Regions from separate parts of the Homo sapiens genome. Here region 2 is linked to region 1. Evidence: promoter capture Hi-C in 16 types of primary human blood cells and fetal thymus (Javierre and others, 2016). All regions are on one chromosome and are shown on one strand. The core of a region is centred on a gene start or on the middle of the fragment in contact, and the rest is flanking DNA. Distances in the headings are between cores, read along the strand shown. Region 1 holds the start of TLR10 (toll like receptor 10). Region 2 holds the start of WDR19 (WD repeat domain 19).

Region 1 (4,930 bases), core at 1,312-3,811:
GTAAATGCAAGCTTAATGATGATGATTAGATGACACAAGCAACAACTCTACTTGGCTCAACTTGTTTTTGGTAAACAAATGTAAAAACACTTAAAGAAAACTTCTCCGTTTTCTGACAATAAAGTATTTAAACATGTTGGTCTCTGGGGAAAGGAAGAATATGTCTTTGGACAACAAAAACCCCAAGTGATTATTTTTCCTTGAGAGGGCAATATACAGTGTGAGTGTGCTGATCATAGTAATTTGAGAATTTCTGAAATGAAAAAGATTTTAGAGCTTAGTTCATCCAACAAGCTGGGAATCCCCTCTCCAACGTTCCTGACGGGTGTTCCTGTCTTCCTACGTTTGTGTAATATAGACATGTTTGTATATGTTTAGGTGAGGAGCAGAGCTGGTTTTGTTTTGCTGTTGTTTTTCTTTTTACAGTTATTTATATTTTGTGTGATTTCCCCCTACAATATATGTGGAAATACATGGACTACATTTTAAATTTAAAAACCCCAATATGATAGTTAAAAAATGTATTTTAAGAACCCACCCACTCCCCAATTTTATAAGACATAAATCTATTATAATCATTCATGTTTAAATTGATCATTCCTCCTGTAGACAAATCCATCTGGAAATTTTCTTCTTTACTCGTGATCTCCAGCAGTCACCTAAATCTTAAGTCAAGTATGAAAAAAACCTCAAAAATGTTGCTTTAAAAATTGATCCGTACTTTGCGATCTACATTTTAAAAAATACCATGCTTATTTTACCACTTCACTTCAAGAAAAGGCCTCTAGGTCAGAGGTCTCCAATCTTTTTGGCACCAGGACCAATTTCATGGAAGACAGTTTTTCCACAGACCGGGTTTGGAGATGGAGGAGAGATGGTTTCGGGATGATTCAAGCACATTACATTTATTGTGCACTTTATTTCTATTATTATGACATTGTAATATATAATGAAATAATTATACAACTCACCATAATGTAGAATCAGTGGAAGCCCTGAGCCTGTTTTCCTGCAACTAGATGGTCCCATCTGACATGATGGGAAGCAGTGACAGATCATCAGACATTAGATTCTCATAAGGAGCACGCAACCTAGATCCCTCCCATATGCAGCTCACAGTAGGGTCCAAGCTCCTATGAGAATCTAATGCTGCCACTGATATGACAGGGTGTGGAGCTCAGGTGGTAATGCAAGCGATGGGGAGCGACTGTAAATACAGATGAAGCTTCATTTGCTTACCCACCACTCACCTCCTGCTGTGTGGCTCGGTTCCTAACAGGCCATGAACTGGTACCTGTCTGTGGCCCAGGGGTTGGGGACCACTGCTCTAGATAACTCCTTTCCACCCTCTTCCTGCCTGATTGCTGAAATTATGGAGTCACCATTCCTACTCCTGCCCATCATCACATGACTGCCCCACCCAACTGATGAAAGGGATAACCGACCTGCACCTTGAAGAAAAGCATCATCAAAGAGCTCTAAGATGCTGTGGAAAACCAGTATGGTAGTTCTGCAAAAAATTAAACAGAATGGTCATACGATCCGTGAATTCCACTTCTAGGTATAGACTCAAAAGAATGTTAAGTACCAACTTAAATAGATATTTGTGCACCACGTTCACAGCAGCATTATTCACAAGAGCCAAAAGGTGAAAACTACCCAAATGTCCATTGATGGATGAATGAATGAACAAAATGTGGGACGTACATACAACAAAATAGTATTCAGCCTTAAAAAAGGAAGGAAAGATTCTATTATTCTATGTAATAATAATAGAAATGATATGGATGAACCTTAAAGACATTATGCTCAATGAAATAAGCCAGTCACAAAAAACCAAATATGGTATAACTCCACGGACATGAGGTACCTAGAGTAGTCAAATTCACACAGACAGAAAGTAGAATTATAGTTTCCAGGGTCTGAGGGAAGGGGAAAATGGGAAATTATTTTTTAATGGCATAGAATTTCAGTTTGGGATGACGAAAAATCTTTGGAGATGGGCAGTGGTGGTGGTTGCACAACAGTGTGAATGTACTTAATTAATGCCACTAAATTGTACATTTAAAAATGCTTAAGGTCAGGCGCGGTGGCTCACACCGTAATCCTAGCACTTTGGGAGGCCGAGACAGGCAGATCACTTGAGCTCAGGAGTTCAAGACCAGCCTGGGCAACTGGCGAAACCCCGTCTCTACAAAAAATACAAAAAACTTAGCCAGGCCAGTTGGTGAGCGCCTGTAGTCCCAGACATTTGCGGGACTGAGAAGCCCAGCCTCTTGCGGGCTTTAGCGCAAGAGGTCAAGGCTGCAGTGAGCAGTGATCACACCACTGCACTCCAGCCTGGGTGACAAAGTGAGACCCTACCTCAAAAAAAATAAAAATAAAAATAAAAATAGAAAGATGGTGAGCATGATAACTCCTATGTTATGTGTATTTGACCACAATTTAAAAAAGTGCTAAGATTATAATGAATATATATAACATGCAATACCAGTAGCATGCAGAAGAGGGCGGATGGGGTTTAAGCTTTACAGAAAACCTCGATTCAATTCCCTCCTGCAGCCAATTCTGACCGTGTCAACGAATCATCCACGCACCTGCAGCTCTGCTGAGAGAGTGCAAGCCGTGGGGTAAGAACCTTAGCTTTGTTTGTTGTAACTCTCATTAAAAAGATATAAGGGCTGCATGGGTATTTTCTAAAAAGGAGATAATTTGAGCTAATATTGAGGGGAGGGAAGTAGGGTTATTTAGATTTTTAGTATTTACTATTTTGTCTAGATTAATGATTAGTGACCTTGGGGCTATTGATCTGAGGAATTTCTTGCAGATGCTTGAGAGCGTGGGTTTCTTTTCACTGATTGCGGATCAAACCTGGTCAGCTCTTCTATTCAGATTGAACGGTCCTATGCACTGTGGCAAGTTTTTTCTAGCTCTTATTTCCCCACAGCGTATGTTAACCTCTGCTGGATGAAACCTTTGGCTATTTAAGGCATATTTGTTGCTCCTTTACCCCGTTGAAAAGTTCTGCATTTGTGTTACCTGTTTAAAAGTAGGGGCAGATCTGATGGATCTTGTACAATGCAGTTCTTATTCCGTTTCCTTCAGAAGTGGACAAAGAGGGCCATATGTGGTTGCTGTAAAGAAGAGGATGGTTAACAACCTGTGAGCATTTGGTTTCTTGATAAGCTTTCTCCCAGACCACCTACACTGAGCTATTAATTAGGAATAGGATGCACTTCGAGTTTTATTTCAATTCTTGTGAACTTATAACTTTCCTAAGAATATATTTATACATGTAGGCAAAGTCTCTTGAACTTTGTGGCACCTAGCAGAGTGTCCCACAGCAGCTGCATGAAGCTTCATAGACAGGGGCATGGGGTGAGAAAGGAGGAAGTGGCCGCCATGGCAGCTGGTCAGATCAATGGATTCAACCTCAGTGATTCGGTCCTTAGGATGTCGTTACATCTTAAGCCACCTCATTTCAAGGTTTGAGGTGCCTTGCATTTGGGTTTAGTTACCATCCAGAAGGAACCAGACAGGTCTGGGTTCAAATCTCTGCTTCTTCAGTTGGTCATCTTGGGCAAGTTACTTTACCTCTGGGCTTTAGCTCCTCCATCTGTAAAATATGAATAATAATGGCCGCCATTTTGTTGAGTCATTGAGGGATTAAACAAGGTAATGGACATAAAACACTTAGCTCCATGTCAGACACGTAGGAAATACTGAAAAGAAGTCATTCTTACTCTTATGTTGCAAAGATCATTCAACATTCAATAGGTTCTTAATCTCTTTTCTATTTCTTTATATCATTGGGAAAAGATAAATTAGATGATTAAATATTCTTTGGTAAAACACTAGTTGTCATTTGATGATGTCTTTTGACTTGGACTTTTAAATTATAAGATATTAAAGATGTATTAAGGAAGGTCATTCTCTGTTTTTTACCTGCTTTTAACGTAGTAGTAGGGATATGATATTAACATATATATACTATTTATAGACTACATCACCAACATGGTGAAACCCCATCTCTACTAAAAATACAAAAATTAGCCGGGTGTGATGGCAGGTGCCTGTAATCCCAGCTACTCAGGAGGCTGCGGCAGGAGAATCGCTTGAACCTGGGAGGTGGAGCTTGCAGTGAGCTGAGATCATACCACTTTACTCCAGCCTGGGCAACAGAGCGAGACTCCATCTCAAAAAAAAAAAAAAGTGTATGTCCTACTTTTAAAATTGCTTTAATGAGGCCAAGCACAGTGGCTCACACCTCTAATCACACCCATTTGGGAGGCTGAGGTGGGAAGATTGCTGGAGGCCAGGAGTTTAAGAGCAGCCTTGGCAACATAGTGAGACCCTGTCTCTATGTAAAAGTTGTTTTTATAAAATGTCATAATGCATAAGTATTGCCTGAGAGATAGGACCTTTACTATTGTTATATTAAGAGAAGTTCAAAAAGAGTTCCTCTCCCATTGTAGTCCCAGATAAGACTGTGGTATTGGGCAGGGGGAAGAAGTGGGTAAGAGATAGAAACTCTGACTTCTCAGCGCAGAGTTCCAGCTAAAGCAACTGGGTTAGATTCTGCTGCATTCTTAAGGGGCCATGGCTCTAAGACCTAGAAGCTTAAAGTCAATTGCTACAAATTAAGCACTCTATGAGAGGATAACATTAAAAGCACCTTTGTCAACCTAATGATTATAACTGCCAGGGTCCTATCAAGCCATAATAGAGCCTGAGGCAAAAGAAACAATCAGCAATACTGATCCTGTCTTTATGAAAAATTTCGATATTTTGTTCAACATAGATTTTTGCATTAATTTTCATTTTTAAAAATATTTCATGTAAACATTATCTTGATTACTGAGTTCCTTGGGACCCCCTTAACATTTATGCCTTCCTTGCTTCACCCGAGTCTTGACCTGATAACTGCCAC
Region 2 (4,930 bases), core at 1,338-3,837, 400 kb before region 1:
ACTTGGAATATAAGTAATCCCAACCTAGCTGTGCTGTAAATATAAAATGTATATCAGATTTCAACAACTGGAAAAAGAATGTAAACTATCTCGTTGTTAATTTTTATATTGATTACATGTTGAAATAACATTTTTGATATACTGGGTAAGATAAAATATATTATTAAAATAAATTTTACCTGTTTTCTTAAAAAATTTTAATGGTCAATAAAAATATGAAATTACATTAGCTCACAGTACATTTATATCAGACAGTGTTGATCTAGAACATTTAGGAATATGAGTTTCAGTGAAAAAATTTAGATTTCAATATTAGGTTAAATTATAGATTAAACAATGATGCCCATTTCTAGGCATATGAAATTTAGATACTGTTACACGGGACTTAGTCTGTGCGGCAACACAAAACTCTTACAATGCTCAAAATTAAACACCGCCTGGCCAACATGGCGAAACCTCGTCTCTACTAAAATTACCAAAAAATGAGCTGGGCATGGTGGCGCTTGCTGTAATCCCATCTACTTGGGAGGCTGAGGCACGAGAATCCCTTGAACCCGGGAGGTGGAGGTTGCAGTGAGCCGAGATGGTGCCACTGCACTCCAGCCTGGGTGACAGAGCAAGACTTCGTCTCAAAATAAATAAATTAACAACCAACAACCAAACACAAAGCAGTGAGGTTGTTTATTTTTATTTTTATTTTTTTTTAGACAGCGTCTTGCTCTGTCGCCCAGGCTCTGGAGTGCAGTGGGGCGATCTTGGCTCACTGCAACCTCCGCCTCCTGGGTTCAAGCGATTCTCCTGCCTCAGCCTCCCGAATAGCTGGGATTACAGGCACACGCTACCACGCCCGGCTAATTTTAAAAATATTTTTGGTAGAGACAGGGTTTCACCATGTTGGCCAGGCTGGTGTCGAACTCCTGACCTCAAGTGATCCACCTGCCTCGGCGTCCCAAAGTGCTGGGATTACAGGCGTGAGCCACCGCACCCTGTCCCAATGAGCATTTTACATGCTAAAGAAGAAATTCCCCTCTATTGAAAGTAGAGGTGGGCTATGATCATGGGACATAAAAGTTTTATAGAGCATAAAGAAACTCATGAAGAAAGAATATTTAAAAGCATCTTACTTTTGCAATTTTGTGACCATTTCACCCTGGAACTCCTTCATGCAAGTGAGAAGTCCTTAAACTTGAATTTCATTACCTTCAATGGCTGACTTGCCTCTAGCTGTGATTTCATATTATTTTTTTTCAGTGGAGCTCTATAGATGCTCCACATACCGTGCAGAGGAAAAACTGCTAGTTTCACAACCAAAAAACCAAGACTTAAATTTTGTTTGTAGCTTATTAGCTGTAGGGCTTTAAGTAAGTCGTTTAAATTGCCTCCAGCAAAAAATTCTCAACTGTAAATCATGAATAATAACTCTTCACTTCTAATATTTCATAAATTGTAAAGAGCTTTAGAAATAAAAATGGGAGTTATGATTACTGGTCCGTCAATTCCAATTTCCACACTAATAGCCACGAAGAAGCATGAGGACATCTAAAATAATTTTAAAATTGAGCCTTCCAGCCGGGCGCGGTGGCTCACGCCTGTAATCTCAGCACTTTGGGAGCCCGAGGTCGGGGGATCATGAGGTCAGGAGAGTGACAGCATCCTGGCTAACACGGTGAAACCCCATCTCTACTAAAAATACAAAAAATTAGCTGGGTGTGGTGGCACGCGCCTGTAGTCCCAGCTACTCGGGGGGCTGAGGCAGGAGAATCGCTTGAACCCAGGAGGTGGAGGTTGCAGGGAGCAGAGATTGCGCCACTGCACTCCAGCCTGGGTAACAGAGCGAGACTCAGTAAAAAAAAAAAAAAAAAAAAGCCTTCCATTTCTTTGCCAGAGCAGAGCAAGGGGGGACTGCTCTGATAAATCAGAAAGTGGGGTGAACAAGAAGCCCAAGCCTAGAAACCGTGCGTGCAGAGGATGAGGCACATGAGCGTGAGACCTGAGTTTTCGGGTGCAGATTTCCCGTCAATAATGTACACTCGCTAGCAGGTGATTGGACTGGTCACAGGTAATACATTTTGAAGTTATTCTTTAGGAGGCTTTTCATTCTTTTTAAGGCGCTGGGCAGCTGCGCGGCTTGCCAGAGGCTTAGCCCCAAGAAATGAGGTAGCTCGTGACATCGGACCCAGTCAACTTCACAGCGACCCTCCAAACGCGTTAACTCGACCAGTTCTTTCCGCGTGCGAAGCTGGGGTATCTTTAGATCCAGTCCGCTCATTTCGGCCAGGGAGGGGTTCCCACTTTCTGCACCGCTTCTACGGCGTCTGCAGTCCCCAAAACGAGAGGCCTCTCTCTCCGCCCTCTCCTCTCCTCCTATTTTCTTTCCTTTCTCTCGTCCCTTCAGCTTCGCCCCCGCTCTCTCTGGCCACCTCTCTCTCTCTCTCTCTTCCTCATTTCCAACGAACTCAGAAGGGAGAGGGACAGATATCCTCTTTTAAAAGCGACCAAGGGCCAGTAGTCGCGTTTTCCCGCCCCACCCCGGGAATTTGTAAGTTATTTACCTTCATCTCCACGCTCGAGCCGCTACGCGAACTATGAAGTACGCAGGCGCACCCGGTCTCCACCAAGCAGGCTACCGCGTTCCCGTCACCCAGGAGACCGCGCGAGCAGCGACCAATCAGCGAGTGCTAATTGAAAGGCGGTGCCTCGAGGGGCCGGGCCAAGCGCACCGCCCTCTGCGAGGGTGGGTGAGAGGCGGAGGGTGGAATCACATGACATCAGAGACGCTAACCCTGGGAAGTTGGGCGTCGCGAGGCCTTGCTGAGCCTCGGCTTCCTGGCTGGCTCTGATTGGATGAGATTCGTCCGGGAGAGACGGGCTCTGTGAGCCCTCAAAGGCGCGTGCGTAAATTTTGGACCGCGATGACTAAGATGTCAGTGCTGGCCAAAGGGGGCGCCGAGAAGCTGAAGGAAAGAAGACGCAGAATGTTAGATTAAAGGAGGCAGGATGGGCTAAATACTCCTATACAGTCCACGCAAAGAGGGGTTGGACGAGCTCGGGTATATCTTTTTTTCTTCCAGGTTTCTGGGGTAGAAGGGAGGAGGCATAAGAGGTACAATAGTTTATTTCAAGGTAGGGTTGTTGGTGCTTTTTTTTTTTCAGTTTCACCAAAATCTTTTTTTTTTTTCAATGTCAACAAAATGTGCTAGCTAACGTGGGCAGGAAAAATGAGCTCCAATAGTTTTCCTTTAGAGTTTGGATCTGGCAGCTTTTCCCCAAGTATAAAGCCCTGTTGTACAGTATTTGTGCTGCATTATTTATAGCATGAAAGTGCATCTTTTACCCAAGCGTCTGAAAGTGTTGAAACAGTCTACCTTTTGCTTTTCTTTTCGACATCAGGTAGGAATCTGATTGGCTTAGAGAAAGTTAATCAATGATTTGAAATAACTAATAATGAATGTTTGCAAATTCTTAAGTAGGGTGCTATGCCTTTGCACTGGGGTTTTCAGTTACGTTACGACAGGGGTCCGGATCCAGACCCCAAGAGAGGGTTCTTGGATCGCGCGCAAGAAAGAATTCAGGGCGAGTTCTCAGTGCTGAGAAAAGCAAGTTTATTAAAACACGTAAAGTGGTGAAAGGACAGCTACTCCATAGACAGAGTAGGACATTCCTGAAAGCAAGAGAAGGGACGCATCCACCCTAGGTACAATGCTTGTATATATGGGGAGATGTGCTCTGCTACAAGGGTTTGTGATCAAAGATTAATTTTCTTAATTATTTTGCAGGAATTGATATTATTATCTTTAAAGCAAAATTAGGAATGCCTTTGTTCTCCAGATATCCCGATATCTGGGTCTGTTTTAGTAAACATTATTAATTTATTCCCTTAATCGTAAACATCTAGAGGCGAGGAATGCCCAAATTCTGAGAATTCAGCCCAGCAAGTCTCAGCCTCATTTTCCTAGCCCTCACTCAAAATGGAATCGCTCTGGTTCAAACGCCTCTGACAGTTAGGTTAATTACTTAAATTTTTACTGAAAGATTCCTCTGCTGAAAGGGTAACCATTTAAAAATAGCCAGAGCAATCAGTTCTTAACAAGACCTGCCCTCAGGAGAAAGTATTTTTACCAAAGCCTAGTCTGCTGGGGTTTTATCAGAGCCTAAACTACCTGGGAGAAGGGAAATACTCAACTTCAGCCTCCATAAACCATCCTGTTCCACTTAAGTGTGGGAGATTAAGAAGTATTGGCGGGCGCCTGTAGTCCCAGCTACGCGGGAGGCTGAGGCCGGAGAACGGCGTGAACCCGGGAGGCGGAGCTTGCAGTGAGCGGAGATCGCGCCACTGCACTCCAGCCTGGGCGATAGAGCGAGACTCCGTCAAAAAAAACAGCAAAAAGAAGTATTGGTGGCCAGGCTCAGTGGCTCACGCCTGTAATCTCAGCACTTGGGGAGTTCGAGGTGGGGGGCTCACTTGAGGTCAGGAGTTCAGGACCAGCCTGGCCAACATGGTGAAACCCCGTCTTTACTAAAATACAAAAAATTAGCTGTGCATGGTGGTGGGCACCTGTAGTCCCAGCTGCTCGGGAGGCTGAGGCAGGGGAATCGCTTGAACCCGGGAGGGGGAGGTTGCAGTGAGCCTAGATCGTGCCACTGCACTCCAGCCTGGCGACAGAGCAAGGCAAGACTCTGCTCAAAAAAAAAAAAAAAAAAAAAAAATTAGCCTGGCGTGGTGGCACATGCCTGTAATCCCAGCTACTCGGGAGGCCGAGGCATGAGACTCGCTTGAACCTGGGAGGCAGAGGTTGCAATGAGCCGAGATTGTGCCACTGCACTCCAGCCTGGTGACGGAGCTAGACTTCGTCTCAAAAAAAAAAGGAAGTACTGGTGACTTTTACCATCCACACCGGCTCACTAAAGGCTGAGGCCTAATCATAGGACT

The links. The method cuts DNA at HindIII sites, captures the fragments that hold promoters and counts their contacts. A CHiCAGO score of 5 or more calls a contact.
Region 2: a contact is called between the fragment with the promoter of WDR19 here and the fragment with the promoter of TLR10 in region 1, in 3 of 17 cell types (naive B cells, activated CD4 T cells and total B cells). The highest score is 6.2, in naive B cells.

Annotation. Positions count from the first base shown.
Region 1 is chr4:38,780,621-38,785,550 of GRCh38, reverse strand. It overlaps TLR10 (toll like receptor 10), which reads left to right and starts at 2,561. Exons shown (of 4, transcript NM_030956.4): 1 at 2,561-2,630. RefSeq lists enhancers at 3,240-3,409, 3,472-3,681. The HindIII fragment of the contact is 660 bases long and covers 2,529-3,188 here.
Region 2 is chr4:39,180,186-39,185,115 of GRCh38, reverse strand. It overlaps WDR19 (WD repeat domain 19), which reads right to left and starts at 2,587. Exons shown (of 37, transcript NM_025132.4): 1 at 2,553-2,587. The coding sequence starts at 2,558. RefSeq lists enhancers at 1,549-1,618, 2,319-2,468, 2,593-2,887, 2,739-2,918. The HindIII fragment of the contact is 13,594 bases long and covers 1-4,930 here.